Regions from separate parts of the Homo sapiens genome. Here all the other regions are linked to region 1. The links are contacts of gene promoters, found by promoter capture Hi-C in blood cells and fetal thymus (Javierre and others, 2016). All regions are on one chromosome and are shown on one strand. Each heading gives the region's core, a stretch centred on a gene start or on the middle of the fragment in contact. The rest is flanking DNA. Distances are from core to core; before and after follow the strand shown. Region 1 holds the start of RNF13 (ring finger protein 13). Region 2 holds the start of HLTF-AS1 (HLTF antisense RNA 1). Region 3 holds the start of GYG1 (glycogenin 1). Region 4 holds the start of TSC22D2 (TSC22 domain family member 2).

Region 1 (4,329 bases), core at 608-3,107:
TTTTTTTTTTGGAGATGGAATCTTGCTCTGTTGCCTATGCCCGAGTGCAGTGGTGGGATCTCAGCTCACTGTAACCTCTGCCTCCCATGTTCAAGCGATTCTCCTGCCTCAGCTTCCCAAGTAGCTGGGATTACAGGTGTGCACCACAATGCCCGGCTAATTTTGTATTTTTAGTAGAGACGAGGTTTCACCATGTTGGCCAGTGTGGTCTTGAACTCCTGACCTCAAGTGATCCGCCTGACTTGGCCTCCCAAAGTGCTGGGATTACAGGCATGAGCCACCGCACCCGGCCTAAAAAAATTTATTTTGATGTTATGCAAGAAATCTGATTTAATATACCAATTTGGGATAATTTAATGAAAAAAATGCTTATAGAGATATTATAAATGTGTTTATACTAATTAGTCTTCTTAGTAATATTCCCAATGCTGACTTTTATTTATGACTTTCTTAAAGGCAGAATTGTGATTTAAGTATTGAATGTCTTTGCAACCAATGAAAAGTTAAGACTACATAGAATACTCATAGGATACACAGAAGAGGAAAGTACCTTTGATAGCTTTTATTTAATTTTTTAAAATTTGATCTTAAATTTCTTGTATTTGAATTTTATTTGAGTAGGTAATATTTGCAAGGTTCAAAATTCAAAAGGCACAAAAGGATACACAATAAGGAAAGAGTCTTTTCCCCATTGCTGTGTCCCACCTACTCAGGGCTCTCCAAGCAATCAAAGTGACAAGTTACATCCAATGGTATTCTACTAATACTCTGTGTGATAGCCTCCTCGCCACCATTTTTAAAAGATGATGTTGAAGGAGTTGAAGCCTGTAAAGGCCTTATTAAGGGTGCCTTATTATTTGAAGCAGAAGTAGTGCCTGATTCTATGTCTCCTGACATTTCTTTCAGGACTCTGTAATATTTGCCTAAGTCACACTGCTTTTGTAAGGTGGCGAGTTGGCAATGATTAATCAATGTGGATGGTACAATCCGGTAATTTAAGTTTCGACTGGTTTAAGATTGAGACAACCAGAAAGGAAGGCTTATCAGAAGGGCGGCAGGGGAGGAGATTTTTGGTTCATCAAAAGGAGGCAAGGGTTTTAAAAGGCTGACCTAGGGCCTGAATCACATGGTTTGACTTTTGCTAAGCCCCGGGGATGGCGCGTGTCAGGCCCAGAGTGCTGATGCCAGCGTGGATCCGAGCCAGGCCTCAGGGGACTGGCGTTCAGACCTCGGGCCGCTCGCATCTCTAACAATTTGAGCCCTACTTTAAGGTGTGGCCACGGTCCCCACCCACTCTGATCTCAGACTGGGCACGGTACGGAAGGCGGGCGGATGAGGCCTCGCCCTCGCCTCTTTAGTAGGTCGGGTGAGTGTAGTGTGCAGGGAAGAGACGCGTCAGCGCCAGGGCCAGGCCCGCCCGGGGGCAGCCCGGCAGCCGAATCTTGGGCTACTCTGTCCCAACAGCCGGAGCAGATCAGACCGACCGGCCCTGCCCGCTCGGTCCCGCGCCCTCCAGACCCTACGGTCTCCGTTTCTAGGGGCACATGGTTAGCGGCAGGCGCCCACAGCCAATCCACTTTGCCAGCCTGCCCCTTCCTCTGCCAAGAGCAGCTTCTTCAGCCGCGCTCCAGTTCCGCAGACGCCTGCCCCACCCTGCTCTTCCCTTCCAGGGAAGACGGATCACGCGGCCAAGAACGAGACTCGCAAACTGGGCATTTCTCCGAGCCGGGCTAGAGCAAGTAGCGAGACTCCGCGTGAGAGTGGGAAAGAGCCTTAACAGGCAACCATGTTGCCCAGTGGGTTTTCTGTGCCTTTGGGTGCGGACCAATGAGGCGCGTGGGGCGGGACTTCCGCTTCGCCTAGGTGTTGTCGTCCCTGCTAGTACTCCGGGCTGTGGGGGTCGGTGCGGATATTCAGTCATGAAATCAGGGTAGGGACTTCTCCCGCAGCGACGCGGCTGGCAAGACTGTTTGTGTTGCGGGGGCCGGACTTCAAGGTAAGACCCTGTCCGGCTTCGCGGCAGCCGGGCAGCTCGTTATCGAGCGGCCCAGAGAACATACCCCGCTTGTTGGCCCTCGAGCTCGGAGTCGGCCCTGCTGCTGAGGTCTTTGCTGCTCCTCTAGAGCTGGGTGAGAAGTCAATTAGGCTTTTTGCAAAAGGAATAAAATAGCCTTGCCCTCGGGGGACCGAGTCTCCCCTGCACTCTCATTCCGCGAGTTTGTGTGTGTCCAAAGTTGAGTTACCGGTTTTGCTTCTCTCATTCCCTTCTTGAGGCTGCAAGAGCCTGCCTGGAAAACATGTTTGGAAGGCTTTTCTTGGTCAAGTACCTGCCGCAACGTCCTCGGGCACATCGCTTGACTTTAGTTGAGGGGGCTGTTTTGTCTCTGAATAGAAGGAGGGCAGTCACTTCCTCTCTTTTACCCCCACCCCCTTTTTCTTTCCCTGGAAGCTCAGATTGCAGGTTTGGGACTTAACCCCTGCTAGGGCCAGATACTACGGTCAGTCAGCAGCTCTGCCTGTATGCTTGACTTGACTTGACTTGCACTTATTAAATAACTTTGTCCCAGAGAGAAAGAGAGAGTGGGCAGACATCGAAGCCAAACAGCAGTATCCCGGAAGCACTCATGCAACTTTGGTGGCGGCCACTCAGTTTTCTCTGCCAGTGTCTGGTAAATTCCTCTATTTTGTCCTAATCTGACAATAGTAAATAGTAAATTTCCAAAACTGTCGTTTCATCATCAGTTTCAGCACCGTGGGCAGCTGCTCGGGTCCTCTCTTGTTGCCCCAAACCTGCCCGGCTATTACTGTTCGTCAGTGATGCAGCAGAAACAGTGAAAACTGATGCATTCCTTTCAACAATGATGTGTTTGTTCTCCAAGGAGAACATCTGCAGTTTTTGATACAATATAAATAAGTAAGGTGGCTGTGCCTCCAAAGAGTTCTTCTGGAGAAACAGATCAATTCAAGATTTAAGGTAGGGCTTTCAAGAGTTTATGCTATTTAAGCACAGTTTTTTAATGGGTGGACATTAGCTCCATCTCGAAGTAACAAAACTGGACAGTGATAGCAATTAAAAAGAACTTTAAACAGGAGGTAAGAAGTGTAGTGCAGTGCTGTAGTGCAGGAAGTGTAGTGCAGTGCTGTAGTGCAGGGCCCATAAGGATTCATTAATAGATTTTAGAATCAATTTAGTACATTGACATAAGCTTTATAAAGAAAGAAAAAATACCAGAGGACATTGTATGGAATAAAAGTAAATATTATGGCAAGAAGCTTTTGTTTCAGTTTTTAACAGTATGTGTGTGTCAAGAGGAAGATGGAAATGTAAAGTGTATTATGGATTATGGCAAAAACAAATGTTTCAAAATACTAAATTCCAAATTTGGGAGTCAAGCTGGGTTCAGCTCTGCCATTTACTAATTCTGTGACATTTTCCGTAAATAAGAAATGAGTTGTTATGAGGATTAAATGAAACAAAATTTGTCTATTACATAATTTTTTTTTGTTTTGTTGGAAACTGTTGGAGAGAGGCACAGTTATTTTTCTCTATGTAGGGAATGAGAACTGTTTTATTAGTTTTTTTTTTTTTAACCTCTGCCTTTGTTTGAAGCTAGGCAGCTTGACATCTTGTCTCTATGTGTAATGCAAATCATAGACAGAATCTTGGTTTGAGAGGTATAATACTGAAGGGTTTGGGATAAGTTCTCATCTATGCTTGTATAAAGCTAATTTTCTCAATAATTTTGGAGGGGCATAAATTGTTGCTAGCATTCAGCTTTCTTCCCTTGATATTTTTCTGCATTCCAGAATAACGTAGATTTATCAGAACTTTTACAGGCACTAACTTTAGCTAAGTGAGGGTAGGCCTGAGGGTATGACTAAAGGGATAGATTTATGTCTTTGAGTTAAGTTGGCTAGGAAGGCATTTTATGCCTTATAGTTCTTGCCATAAGAGATGTATGAAATGAAATAGTTTGGTCAACTATCATGGTATGTTTTGCTTACTTCATGTAGGTGTGACCTAGAAATGGTTGGCATTTAAATAACAATATTTTTAAATCTGGGAATTGATGTTTAGCAGGAGGCAAATGAGTTTCAGTCAAAACAGTGTTTTGCACCATTTGTCATGTTTACCATATGGCATTGCATATGATAGTTTCACATGACATAAAAAGGGGAAGAAAGTTGGTAAGCATTGTTACTTTTCCCAAAAGAGGAAACAAAATTAGAAGCGAATTCCTTTTAATAAAGCATACTGGTGAGTCATTGTTCAAAAATGTATGTATTCTATAGATATTTATTGAGCATATATAAAAGTAAAATATTAAA
Region 2 (3,986 bases), core at 850-3,349, 730 kb before region 1:
GAAATACAGGAGAAAAACAAATCCAGAACATGAAACTCCTAAGGAATCTCCTGTCGAACATGCTTCAGACACCCTATTGAGAAGCTTAAACATAAGAAACATACGGAGAAATGAAAGAATAAAATCCAGAAGATTCCACAAAACGATCTCCTTTTTGCAACAAATCGATGACATGAACAAGGCGCTGGGGTGTGGGGGTGGGGTGCTACCCATAATAACCAAACATAACGCACTGAGGCCAAGCATATTGGCTCATTCCTGTAATCCCAACACTCTGGGAGGCTGAGGTGGGAGGGTCACTTAAGGTATTTGTTATTTTTTGCGTACAAATATTTAACTAACTTAAAGTAAAATAAAGATTAACCGCACACATCACCTGCGAATTCTCTTATTTTCTAGGTTAACGCCAGAAATATAATCAAAATTTAATTATCTACTATTATACTCACTACTCCCGTGTAATAGCGTAGTCCAACCACATGACCTCTCAAACTTCCAAATAAAACGGAATCTACTTCTTCATCACTAGTTAGAAAGTCATCTGGAGGGATAACATCTTGGAATTCAAAACGTGGAAAGAAAGTTGGATATGAGAGGCGTGGAAAATTTCCATGAACTCCATACTGGACAGTCTGCAAGTACTTCCAAACTGGATCCCTATTTTTTTTTAAAGGCAAAGAAAAACAATATAATATTTAAGTATTTCCAAAGACCATATGAGTAGTTTTCTCATGCTTTACTTCAGCAAATGAAATCTTACATGGGAATCACGGTAAAGATTAATAGTTACTCTCGTTAAAGCAGGAATTGCAGTGAGTGGAGAAGGCTTCTAGGAACTCTACCTGTTTTCAATATTGGCTCTTCTACCTGCCCCCTAGGTATTCAAAATGAAAAGCCTAGTCAGAGTTCACTAACCTCTTTCCCAGTGAAAATCATCTAAATTGATATGTATATGATGTCTGTAACTACAATTATGGGCCGGATGCGGTGGCTCACGCCTGGAATCCCAGCACTTTGGGAGGCAGAGGCAGGTGGATCACCTGAGGTCAGGAATTTGAGACCAACCTGGCCAACATTGTGAAACCCTGTCTACTACAAATACAAAAATTAGCCAGGCGTGGTGGCGCCCATATGTAATCCCAGCTACTCGGGAGGCTGAGGCAGGAGAATCACTTGAACCCGGGAGGCGTAGGTTGCAGCGAGCCGAGATTGTGCCACTGCACTCCAGCCTGGACGACAGAGCGAGACTCCATGTCAAAAAAATAATTTAAAAAATGAAATCATATGCCAAAATTTCAATAGGGATTGAGCTATATAAAAGACTTATAAAAATACAACTATTAATGTACCAGAAGTTGTTTATAATTTTCCAGAAAATACATCCAGCATCCATCACTGTAACTCCCTGCGAGCAGAACACCTATTCTGGTATCCAAACCACGCCACCGTGGGAAATTGGCCCCAAGCCACCCGTACCCGCCTTCCGTCGCCGGTTTAAGCATAACCCCAAACCCATTAGGTGTAACTGTTTCGGGAATGACCATAAATACCAATTTGGACAATGAAAAGTGAAGGGGAGTCTACTGGAGCATTGCAAAAAGTTTCCATTCTCCTAAGAACAGTCGCTTATTTGCGATGCGTTTTCCTTGCAAGTGGCGCATATCTCTACTAGCGCCTCTGCAAATACTTATCTGCACGTCTGTGCATACAGATAAGCTGTGAGCCACTTGGGGACAAGGACTGTCTTACTCGGCCCTCCACCGAGCACAATGCCTGGCGCACAGTGGGTATCTAATGGATGTTTTGTTAAATAAAGCACTGGCCGAGATGCTTTAAGCCCCAGGCCCCCCACAGTCGGTGACAGAGATTTCCCAAGTCCCTAACACGGGACTCGCCCTAGGAGCCCCTACTCGCCAGCGAAGACAATGCATTTATTTCTCCGGCGGCCACATATGCGACCAACAGAACGAATACAGCTGCACAAATCGCCCAGGGAACGCAGAGGAACGCGGGGAAGGTCAGGTTCATTTGGGGACGCCTCCAGGCCGTTAGACCGAGCGCCCCACCCCCTCCGCCCCCTTCACCTCTTGAACATCCAGGACATGGCGCTGAGTGGGATGACAAGAGGAGCGCCTCGGCTCCCCTGGATCGTTTTCGAGCCGCCTCGATACGCCTCCTTCCAGGCCCCGCAGCCCTGAAGCCGGGGACAAATTCCGAGCGCCGGATCAGGAGCGCACGACTGAAAGGTAAGTCGCCGCGAGTCCAGTCAGACGTCGACGCCGTCTCCTTCTGCAACAATCTGGGAGACCAGCGTCGCTCTGTGACTGGCACTAGGAAAGCCCAATCACGAAGAGGAGAGTGCGGAGCCAAACCAGTCAGAGCACAGAAGGGAGGGCAACTCCGCCCCGCTGCCATTCAAAGACGGCGGGGGGTCCGGGCTGCAAGGGTGGTTCCATCCGGGTTCTTCCCCGCCCCCAAGGCGGGCGCGCGGGAAAGCCACGAGGCCCCAGGAGTGCGACTGCGGTGCCTGCGGTGCCGGTGTTTTGTTTGATTCCCTGCCTCAAACGGAGGGAAACGACCTTCCTTTATCCTACGAGTCCTAAGACTGAACCCCATTCTAAAGGCTCTACCGTATCCTTCCTCTTATTTTCTTCTCATCTAATGTGGCACATAATAGGGCCTTATACTAAAGGAGCTCCACGGTTTACGAGACCTAGAGCTACCGGCGAGATACTTTACTTCATTCCCTGTGGTGAACCGTGGGGACTTTCGCTCCAAATTTTCATGTTAAGCCTCAGCGTATGCATGAGACACAACGAGTTTGGAAAATCTTAAATGGAACTTAGAGTCCCCTCCCCACCTCTTTTTGTTATTTTTAAGGAAAATTTTCCTTTCTTGGTGCAGGAAACCCATCACATGTTTATTACAGCTATGGGGGCGTTTGCCTGAAATGGTGGACGGGACCATTTTCCCCGTGGGCACTTGGCTGCTCCAGCCAAGAGGGGGAGGCCCTTGTTTTCCTCAAGGAACTGCAGAGGGGCGCTCTGAGGCCCTCCATGGCTCTCTTTCCAGAGTCTGAGGTGACCGGAAGGAGAATGCGGCCCTGGGACCGTCAACCTTGGACCAGCTGCAGCCGACGCCTGGCAGGGCTGGTCGCTTTGCGTTGAGGAGGCTGCTGTCCCCGAAGCTGGCCTTTTAATCGCACAGGGCAGGAAGCTGGTGGTGGCGCCCAGCTGCACAGGCGGCACCATGTAACTGCCAGATAATACTTGCGCGTCACAGAGAGGTCCATGTTACACGCCTGTCAGCACAATAATATTAGGTGGTCAGCTTTTCTTTTTTCTTTTTTTTGTTTTTTTTTCTTTTTTATTGAGATGGAGTCTTGCTCTGTCCCCCAGGCTGGAGTGCAATGGGGGTGATCTTGGCTCACTGCAACCTCCGCCTCCCGGATTCAAGCGATTCTCCTGCCTCAGCCTCCGGAGTAGCCGGGATTGCAGGAGCCCGCCACCACGCCCAGCTAATTTTTGTATTTTTAGTAGAGACGGGGTTTCACCATATTGGCCAGGCTGGTCTTGAACTCCTGACCTCAGGTGATCCGCCCGCCTCGGCCTCCCAGAGTGCTGGGATTACAGGCATGAGCCACCGTGCCAGGCCGGTAGTCAGCTTTTCAAGACACATTTGTTCATTATCGTAAATAAACTGTAGTGATCTCTAATCATGAACCATGGATGAGCAATAGAATTTGAAACAATGTATTATTTCATTTGACCAAAGTTGATGAGGAAGATAAAGACAATGGCATTTCAAATTATTTTAATTGTTGTATGTTCTTCTTGAAGTGTGTTGAGGCAAATGGCAATACAGTTCAGCTTTTAGTATGCCAGATTTTAAATAAATTCTTGGAAAATATGCCAGAAATTGCTCAAATTGATGTTTTGTAAGAGTAAGAAAGTCATGCTCACTAGACAAAGAAAAAATTCCAAATA
Region 3 (4,182 bases), core at 1,496-3,995, 820 kb before region 1:
TAATTAGGAAGGTAAGTATCCTGCCAAAAAAATTACATAATGCATTACAAAGCCAATTTAAAATGAATTTTGGACCATTCCGAATATATGAATTCAGCATAGGTTTAAATGGTTAATAGTCATGCCTACTGATGTAGGGTATAACTTATCTTTTTTAACTTAAATCTTTCTTTTAGGATTCTGTAATTTTACTAGTTCAAGTTTCACAAGAAAAAAAATAACAAGCTAAAATCTGAAACATTTGCCTCACTATACCATGTTTATCCACTACCTCTAAGGCCTTACAATCCAAAATGTTTGAACACCTCACTATTCAAAGTGTGGGTCCATAGCCTGGGGATCACCTGGGAGACCCACCCCCAAACTACTGAGTCAGAATCCGCATTTTAATAAGATCCTTGGGCAATCTGTGTGCGCATTAAAGTTTGAGAGGTCTTGCTCTCACACCAGACTGAAGCTCACTGCAGGGCAGCCTCAGGAAAAGTAGGCAGTGGGGTCATTATGATCTATATTAAGACAATGAAGAAGAACAGATTGTAGCAACCTCAAAATGTCCCTATTTGATTCAAAGTGGTAAAAGCTGTAAACTTTCTATTTGTGTAAATATACATGAAGCTCAGGAAGGGAAGCTGTGGTAACCGTTCCTTTTACTTAAACGTCCTGGGAGTTGCAGCAGAGAGGAGCTTGTTCTAAGGGAAGCTTTTCTGTTTTTCCCAGTTGTCCCCAGTTCTACCTCCTGGCTTTGCCCTTTCAGCCCCATCACCACATCCCTGGCTAAGTCCAGCCTGAGATAGTAGGCTGCAAGAAGTAGATGGTTAAGGGTCAGCTGATGGCAGGAGGGTTCTGGGTGAAAGATGGAAATCTCACTCTTCCAAGTTCACCTCTCAGTCTGCAAAAGAGCAATCAGACTGAGAAGTACCTCTCTTTGTTTTCCCTCTCCCCACTTAAGATACAAAAGTGTAGCCTTTGTGTTCCTTAAAGAGCTCCAACTCTTCTATGTCTATATCTTTTGAATAAGTGGAAACCCATCTATTGCCCTTTCCACTTTTCTGTTTCCTACAACGGAAGCACATAATGCCAAGTAACTGGGAGGGCCTCCCATGTGATCAGCGGTCTCTAGGCCATGGTCAAGACTAGGAAGGACTCAAGAGAGGCTCCTGGAAGGTGATATTTAAAATACTGATTTTAAGGTTCTACCCTTAAGATTCTTTTTGTTTTGTAACCTGTTTTTCTTCAAATAATATATTTTGAACAGCTTTTTATATTAAAAATATATAATGATTATGCCTACAGAGTATTTCATTACCTCAAGAGTATATGACGCGACTTCAAAAAGTCCATAGAATATACATATTATAAAAAAAAAATGCATGGATTTCAAAATTATTTTGCACCAAAATAAACCTACCCTTAAGATTCTGATTCAGGAGGTCTGGGCTTAGGCCCAAAAATCTACGCTTTAACCAGTGCCCCCAAGTGATTCTGATGTAGGAGATCCACACCCACACACGAGGAAACAGTGATATAACTGGTTTGAGGACAGCAGTACCACCTTTGCAAATAAATCACTTATTCTTAAGCATCTGTTTTGCTTTTTGAACTGATGTCAACTTCCTGATTGGTTTCCAAATGGCTTTGCAGTACTCATTCAACATTTACCGAGCAATTTCAGTTTTCAGTTTGCAGAGAACTGAACTACCCGAGGCTTGTTCTGTGTTTGGACTGGGGATGGGGAGCAGAGAAGGATGTGATCACATTAAAGCTATTTCTCAACTTCCTAGAAAAATGACAAATTGACCATTTCAAGATTTGTGAAACAGGTTAGCATTGGCTAACCACAGTTACAATAATTTACTAACCTTTTTGGAGCCCCTGTGTACAAGAGGCACCAAGACTTTCTGGGTGGGAAGGTTGATTCTGTAACCAAACTGCCAGGGTTTAAATCCTACTTTCTCCATTTATATTATATGACTATAGAAAAGTTAGCACTTTGGGAGGCTAAGGCTGGCAGATCACTTGAGGCCAGGAGTTCCAGACCAGGCTGGCCAACATGGTGAAACTCTGTCTCTACTAAAAATACAAGAAAAAAAAGAAAAGAAAAGTTAATTTAACTTTTCTGAGCTCAGTTTCCTCCTCGTCTGTAAAATGAATATGTAACACCTCACTGAGTTCGTACAAGGATTAAATGAAGCACTTAAATGCCTAATTGATGCAGATGGCTCCAAGAATTTAACATTTACGAAATATTCACTATATTTTTTAGGTTAAGGGTACAAAACCATTGTGAGTACACTAAGGAATGATTATAGAGGCTGATCGAAATTCTGCAAAAAAAGCGTAAATTTTACGTTTCATTCAAGCAGTTCAGACTCACGATTTTAACTAGAGTAATCTGGGGTTTGTTTGCTTGTTTTTTAAGGTTCCCTAACCCTTGGCTTCTTGGGGAGTTTGATGCCGCACTCAGCCCCAAAGTCCCCCTTAACTCCCAGGTTTAGCGGCGACAGGGGGCGCGCGGTTGACAAGGGCAGGCGCCCCGGGGAAGTAGGAGCAGGGGCGCCGGTGAGCCGCAGCCGCAGCGGCAGCCTAGCCCCGAGGGAGGGAGGAGGAGCCGAGGGAGACGCGGGACCCGGAGCCCCGCGGGCCACCGCCCCTGCCGGCCGCGCAGCTGGGAGGATGCGGACGGCAGCGAGAGCGTGCGCGGCCACGTGACGGCCGCTATAAGAGCGCACGGGGCAGACGCTCGGTTCCCCGCCGTGCCTCCTCGCTGGCCGCGCTCCCTCCCGGTGCCGGCTTCTCTGAGTCACCAACCTGAGGCTGCCCCGGCCGCCTGCGCACCCGGCAGCACCATGACAGGTACCGCCGCGCAGCCCGCCGCCGCCAGCCCCGGGACCCCGGCTTCCTGCCCAGCCGCCGCCTCCCTTCTCCTCCGCCCTCAGCCCCGGAGTGTTCCCGGCAGGACGAAACCGCCGCAAAGTTGCTGGCTGGCCGCAGCCGGGCGTGTTTCTGCCTGCGTCAGCTGCCGCCCCGCCGCCCCCCAGAGTGCAGGGATGGGGCAGCCGGGCAGAGCCCGGGCCCTCGGCCGGAGCTCTCGTTCCTGCTTCCGTCTCCTCGTCCTTCCTCTTGCTCTCACGGCGAAGGGCCGGCGGGCGGAGCAGCTGCGGCGGGGCCGTGTGGGGGTGGGGAGCCGGTTCCCCTGGGGGTTCCAGGCGGGAGTCCGGGGCGCAGCGGCATCGTGGGGAGCTGCCCCGGCCTCTGGCGGCCCGGAACCCCAGGAAGCAGGGGCTCCGAGGCGGGGATACTGCGGCCTCCGCCCGGCTCCTCCGCCGCCCGCCCCGGCCCCGGCCGCCACGCTGAGCCTATTTTTAGGCCTTTGGGGCCGGGTTGCGGGAAGCCGGGAGTCGGACTAGCGTCCCCGGGCGCGAGCCCCGTCTGGTGGGAGGGCGCCGGCTTTGGCTTCACTTGTTGCGAGGCGTCCGGGCCACTCCACGAGTTAGCCCCAGCACTGGGAAGCTCCGAGTTAGCTGGTCCTTCCGTGTCATTGAGGCTAATAGCCAGGGTTATTACAGCAGTTGAACTGCCACAAAGATTGCAGGTGTAACCCAGAGTTCAGCCGTCTTTAGGAAGATTAAACTCCTACCCAGCTGTCATTGGTCTTTCTTGGTCATTTGTAATGTTGGCTAGTCTGGTGTTCTAACCTGTGTTCTATCCCTTATTTAATCTTGGAAATCATCCATATCCTTGCTTCCAGAAATCCTTGAATCCTGCTCACCTTATTACATTTTTCTCCATGATCGCCTGGAACCTGGACTTCATTTGAGTTAGATGATCATTCATTTTGCCTAGCTTAAGTATTTTTGGTACAGATTGACAGCGATGTTACCCATGTTATAATGGGCTGAAGATAATAGAAGCAAGTACAGGCGGATGTTGATGGGCCTGTCAAGGGACAGGTGCCACTGTTCAGAGCTTTCCTAGAGTGTGAGTGACTGGGAAGCTGGTGGCCCTTCGGGGGTGGGGAACTGGTCTTCCTACAACTTAGTAGTTGGCCTGCCGTGGGAGAGGGCCTAATAAAATGTGTGAAGATGGCTCTCAGGTCAGCAGCCGAGGGATGCGCTGGCCCACTAGGCAACCCACAACTTCCTCTCATGTCTCGGTGGAATTTCTACTGCTTCCAGCCTCCAC
Region 4 (4,469 bases), core at 684-3,183, 590 kb after region 1:
TAATTGCAGTTTTTGCCATCATGTAAGTGACAAAAACCACAATTACTTTTGCACCAAACTAATAACAATTTGGTAATAAAAAACACAGAAAATAAGCATAAACTATTTCTAAACTCCAGAAAAAATTGTTGACTGGGATATAGGTAGTCCAATTCTTAATACACAACACAGGGAATGTTCAATAAATGTCACTGTCTAACTGATAGTATTAATGCTAAAGGGTTACTTCTCTTTGCCTAGGCCATTGCTTAATTTCTATGGAAAGTATTTTCTTTATCCCATAATGTTTAATGCATCATTATTATTTTAAATATAATATACCTTCATTGAAAAAAAAGAGGTTTTCTTGAGTATCTAGAGTTTACATTCCAGGATTTTCTATGAAATAATTCACCATCTGCTACTGATGAGGTTAGATAATAACTTAGGAAAATTTGGGGGTATGATGTTTACAGATGATGAAAAGATGTTGCTGTAGCAGTTTTTTATTTTCATCAGTAGAAACTGTCCTTAGTTTTTAACTGCTTTTATTCCCCTGCATTATGTTTTCTAAATGTATCTCCCATGCATCACTGCAATTTGAAATATTTGAAAAAAGTACCAGGTACAGAAGAAACAGTCAAGTTGGGGGCTCTAAGAGCAGTAATCGAGGATTCCCACAGCCTCTAGTATGGTCTCTGGGTACAGGCATGCAGCCTGGTAACTGCATTAAGACTCCTAGTCTTGAGGTTTGGGACTCCAAGGATCTCTTTATTCCAGTGAGTTAGGCTACCATCTTACTTACTAACCACTCTCTATACAGGGAGCATATGTACTTGCATATACATACTGCTTTCTATCATTTAAATTAGTTATTGAAAGGCTTTCAATTCTTTGTGGACCAACTTTTGAATTACATACTTTTTTGTTTAGATATAGCTATGCCACTTTTTGTCCTCTACGTTGATTTCCAACTTACTTGCAAAAATCAGAATTCTTATTTCTTTGTAGCAGTTTGATGTAATAAATTCTGTACATTTTTTAAGGGCAAATGTATAAAAGTAGCTAGGGCTTTTAAACTTTTGGAAAACAATATTTTCAAGAGAACTATTAAACACAAATCCTTAACCATCTAAATGACACTTTTAAAAGTTATAAATCATATGCTTTTCCTAAGATGTCTTTTAACATCTTTAGCCCCCTCCTTACCAGAAATTTAGTCCACTTCTGGATCTCTTCTAAATTATCTTTATCTTTCCTTTCATCTCATAATATATCATTTTAAGGAGAAATGGTCTTACAGATTACTTTAAGATTTTTCCTCTAAATGTACGATTTAAGAGTATCATAACGAGTAATCAAGAAGTTTATATGATAAGATAATGTAAAGGGATGAGCAGGCATATAATACTCATTTTTCCAAAAGCACCACCATCAACACTACCCATTATAACCACCTTAAACATCTGGTAAATCAATCCAAAATTAAATTAAGCTTTTATAAATTCATATTGGGTTTAACCATTTGATCTAACTTATTGATGGAAAACTGCCTCTAACAATTACTGAAATTACAGACTTAGAAATGAAACATTCCATTAGCTATCTCTGCCACAATAGCATAACGTTACATTTTGTTCCATTACTTTCGCCCAGCCCCTTAAGAAATAGGGATTTTATGTCGTCTTATTTCACATTCTGACTCCAGTCACTTGGGTTTGGAGGGCATGGTTTCCACTAAAGTTAAAAGACCTAGCTCTATAAATTACAACTAAAGACCTAAAAAATTCTCTGCAAATTTAATTCTCAAAACATCTTTTGGGATAAAAAGTATTTCTATTCTTCAAAGATTAGAGAACCGAGTTCAACGATTTACTGATTTAAGTTATCATTATGTGATTGCTAACGCTGCAGTAGATATGAAATCACGATTTCCATTAAGACTTAGATTTTACCTAAATGACGACTGCTTTAGTATGTCAAAGTTTAGGAGCCCATCCCCATTTTTTTAAACTGCTTAAAAGAATGGCCTTAGCATGCCAAAGTTTAAGAGCCCATCCCCATTTTTTTTTAACTGCTTAAAAGAATGGCCTTACCATTTTCTTTGGCCAGGAACTAACTACAAGATGATAAATTTGCCAGTACTTTCTTTTCATAGTTGTTCTTTGCATTGGAACAGGAAAGGGTGCTTTATCACTCGTTACGGTTGTTCATGGCCCAATCCAAATCATATAATACGCTGGCTGCTACTAACAGTTTTAGAATAAACAAAAAGAAGAACTATAATGCAGTAGGTTCTACATTTATAAAGCCCATGAGCTGATTTCGTGCCGAAAGTAAAACAGTCTCAAGAGTTTAAATGAATCCTGGAATCACAGCAAATTCAGGAAATTTAGGAATATGTTGGTAACCCTTAAGCTTTTTAAAAACTGACTACACCCTGGGCAAGTAACCACCCCCTGATGCCGTTGTGGGAGACAGAATTTCTGGCAGGAAGATAATTTTCTGACTCAATCTGGCTTGCCGTTCTTGTTTAATCATCCCCATTTCTCTGAACATTTTACTCCTCTGACTACAATGGTCAACATTTATTTTCAGAAGTTTTAAAGTGATTTAGTTCTTCCAGCCGCACCTCTTTTTATCCCATCTAAGTCTTCCCCAGCCCCCATTCCTATCGCCCTCGTTTCACTAAGATTTTGCTAAACATTAGACACAAGCACATGACCTCCAGTCTTCCACTGTCTCGGAACAAACCGACATAAAAACATCTGATTAGTTCCATTGTAAGCTTCCCTAGGCTTAGAATTTAAAATGGTCTTTAGCTCGTCAATGCTTAAAGAACCTACAACACAAAATTTAAATTTTAAAAATTTTAAATAAAGAAACCGCTCCCTTTTTTAACCTTTAGCCCCGCCCATTGCCCCCCACCCCAGGTTCCACGCGAAACTGCAGGAAACCGGAGGGGGCGGAGCGGTGACGTCACGACGCCGGTGCGTCACGGAACGGCGGCGGCTGCGGCGCTGGCGGTGGCTGCGGCAGCGGCGGCATTTTAGTCGGCAGCGGCGGCGGCAGCGGGGCTGCTGCTCCTCCCAGCATCCCTGGCGCGGCCATTTCAGCCCCATCTTGGCCCAGCGGAGGGAGCTGCAGCCGCCGCTTCAGCAGTTTGAATTTCAGTTTCTTCGGGGTTTAGGAATTGGGCGCACCGAGGAGGAGCCGGAGAAGCCACCACCGCTACCTCACACAGCCGGGGCGCCTCCGGTCCCGTGCCAGCGGTCTGCCGCCGCCGCCCCTCTCTGAGAGAAGCCGCGAGGGGAGGCCGAGACCGCCGTCGCCGCCCGCCCGCAGGGGTGGTTCCCCCTGTAAGGGGAGGACCGAGCCGGCTTTCCCCTCCCCCAGAGCGGGTTTCCGCCTGAGGCAGTCGACATGTCCCTGGGGCTGAGCTCCGGCTAGAGCCGGGGAGGGAGGGCCGCCTGCCCGCGCCACAGCCCCACCGCCCGCCCGCGGACCTTCAGCCAGCTCCGGCCCGCGGCTCCCGGCTGAATTAGGCATCTCCGACTCCGGACTCGCCGCTCCTTCCCTCAGTCAGAGAGCCCAGCGCTGACGCCGGCACCGGCCTGAGGAGCCCGAGCGGGGCAGCACCGCCCCTCACGCCGCCGCCACCGCCTCCTCCTCCTCCTCTTCGCCCTCCCACTCCCACCCCCAGCCAAGGCCTGCTGACCGCGCCGAGCGCCGAGCTGGACTGACCACGGCTGCCCGGAGACGAGAGAGGAAGCAGCCGGCCCGCCCCTGGGTTCGCGCTCTCGCCGCCTCTGAGGGAATTGAATTGAGGCGCCGCGGCTGCGAGAGCTAAAAAGGAAGGAGGAGCCGCCGCGGGACTGAGACGGGGGCAGAGCCGAAGAGACCGACACAGAGAAGGAAACGAGGAGGAGGATGTCTCACCGGGCGGCCAGCGCCTGGATCAGCCCGTGACTCTTAACAGCGGCGGGCCTCAGACCCCAGCGCAGACTCGGACTTTGTCTTTGGGGGCCCGTGCTCTGCCCTCCCCGGTTTCCGACAGGACCCAGAGGAGCCGGCGTGCCTCTCTGCCCTCCAGCCTTCTTCACCATGTCCAAGATGCCGGCCAAGAAGAAGAGCTGCTTCCAGATCACCAGTGTCACCACGGCCCAGGTGGCCACTAGCATCACCGAGGACACCGAGAGCTTGGACGACCCGGACGAGTCACGCACAGAGGACGTCTCCTCCGAGATTTTCGACGTCTCTCGGGCCACGGATTATGGCCCTGAGGAGGTCTGCGAGCGCAGCTCTTCCGAAGAGACGCTTAACAATGTTGGGGATGCGGAGACTCCCGGGACCGTCTCCCCAAACCTCCTCCTAGATGGGCAGCTGGCAGCGGCGGCTGCTGCTCCCGCCAACGGAGGAGGAGTCGTTTCGGCCCGGAGCGTGTCTGGGGCGCTCGCCAGTACCCTGGCGGCGGCTGCCACTTCGGCCCC

Evidence for each region. The method cuts DNA at HindIII sites, captures the fragments that hold promoters and counts their contacts. A CHiCAGO score of 5 or more calls a contact.
Region 2: the fragment with the promoter of HLTF-AS1 here is called in contact with the fragment with the promoter of RNF13 in region 1 in 4 of 17 cell types (fetal thymus, naive CD8 T cells, naive CD4 T cells and 1 more); the score reaches 14.1 in fetal thymus.
Region 3: the fragment with the promoter of GYG1 here is called in contact with the fragment with the promoter of RNF13 in region 1 in 7 of 17 cell types (fetal thymus, naive CD8 T cells, non-activated CD4 T cells and 4 more); the score reaches 10.2 in fetal thymus.
Region 4: a contact is called between a fragment that was not itself captured here and the fragment with the promoter of RNF13 in region 1, in 1 of 17 cell types (total B cells). The highest score is 5.1, in total B cells.

Annotation. Positions count from the first base shown.
Region 1 is chr3:149,811,358-149,815,686 of GRCh38, forward strand. It overlaps RNF13 (ring finger protein 13), which reads left to right and starts at 1,858. Exons shown (of 10, transcript NM_183381.3): 1 at 1,858-1,996. RefSeq lists enhancers at 1,215-1,726, 1,592-1,701 and a silencer at 1,232-1,381. The HindIII fragment of the contact is 6,716 bases long and covers 1-3,204 here.
Region 2 is chr3:149,084,233-149,088,218 of GRCh38, forward strand. It overlaps HLTF-AS1 (HLTF antisense RNA 1), which reads left to right and starts at 2,100. Exons shown (of 3, transcript NR_046648.1): 1 at 2,100-2,246. It overlaps HLTF (helicase like transcription factor), which reads right to left and starts at 2,301. Exons shown (of 25, transcript NM_003071.4): 1 at 2,085-2,301; 2 at 450-657. The coding sequence starts at 2,104. RefSeq lists enhancers at 1,628-2,145, 2,051-2,260, 2,146-2,663. The HindIII fragment of the contact is 6,248 bases long and covers 83-3,986 here.
Region 3 is chr3:148,988,795-148,992,976 of GRCh38, forward strand. It overlaps GYG1 (glycogenin 1), which reads left to right and starts at 2,746. Exons shown (of 8, transcript NM_004130.4): 1 at 2,746-2,853. The coding sequence starts at 2,847. RefSeq lists silencers at 2,385-3,434, 3,468-3,762. The HindIII fragment of the contact is 9,660 bases long and covers 698-4,182 here.
Region 4 is chr3:150,405,268-150,409,736 of GRCh38, forward strand. TSC22D2 (TSC22 domain family member 2) reads left to right here and starts at 3,031. Exons shown (of 3, transcript NM_001303264.2): 1 at 3,031-4,469. The coding sequence starts at 4,084. RefSeq lists silencers at 3,122-3,721, 4,392-4,469 and an enhancer at 4,092-4,141. The HindIII fragment of the contact is 923 bases long and covers 1,473-2,395 here.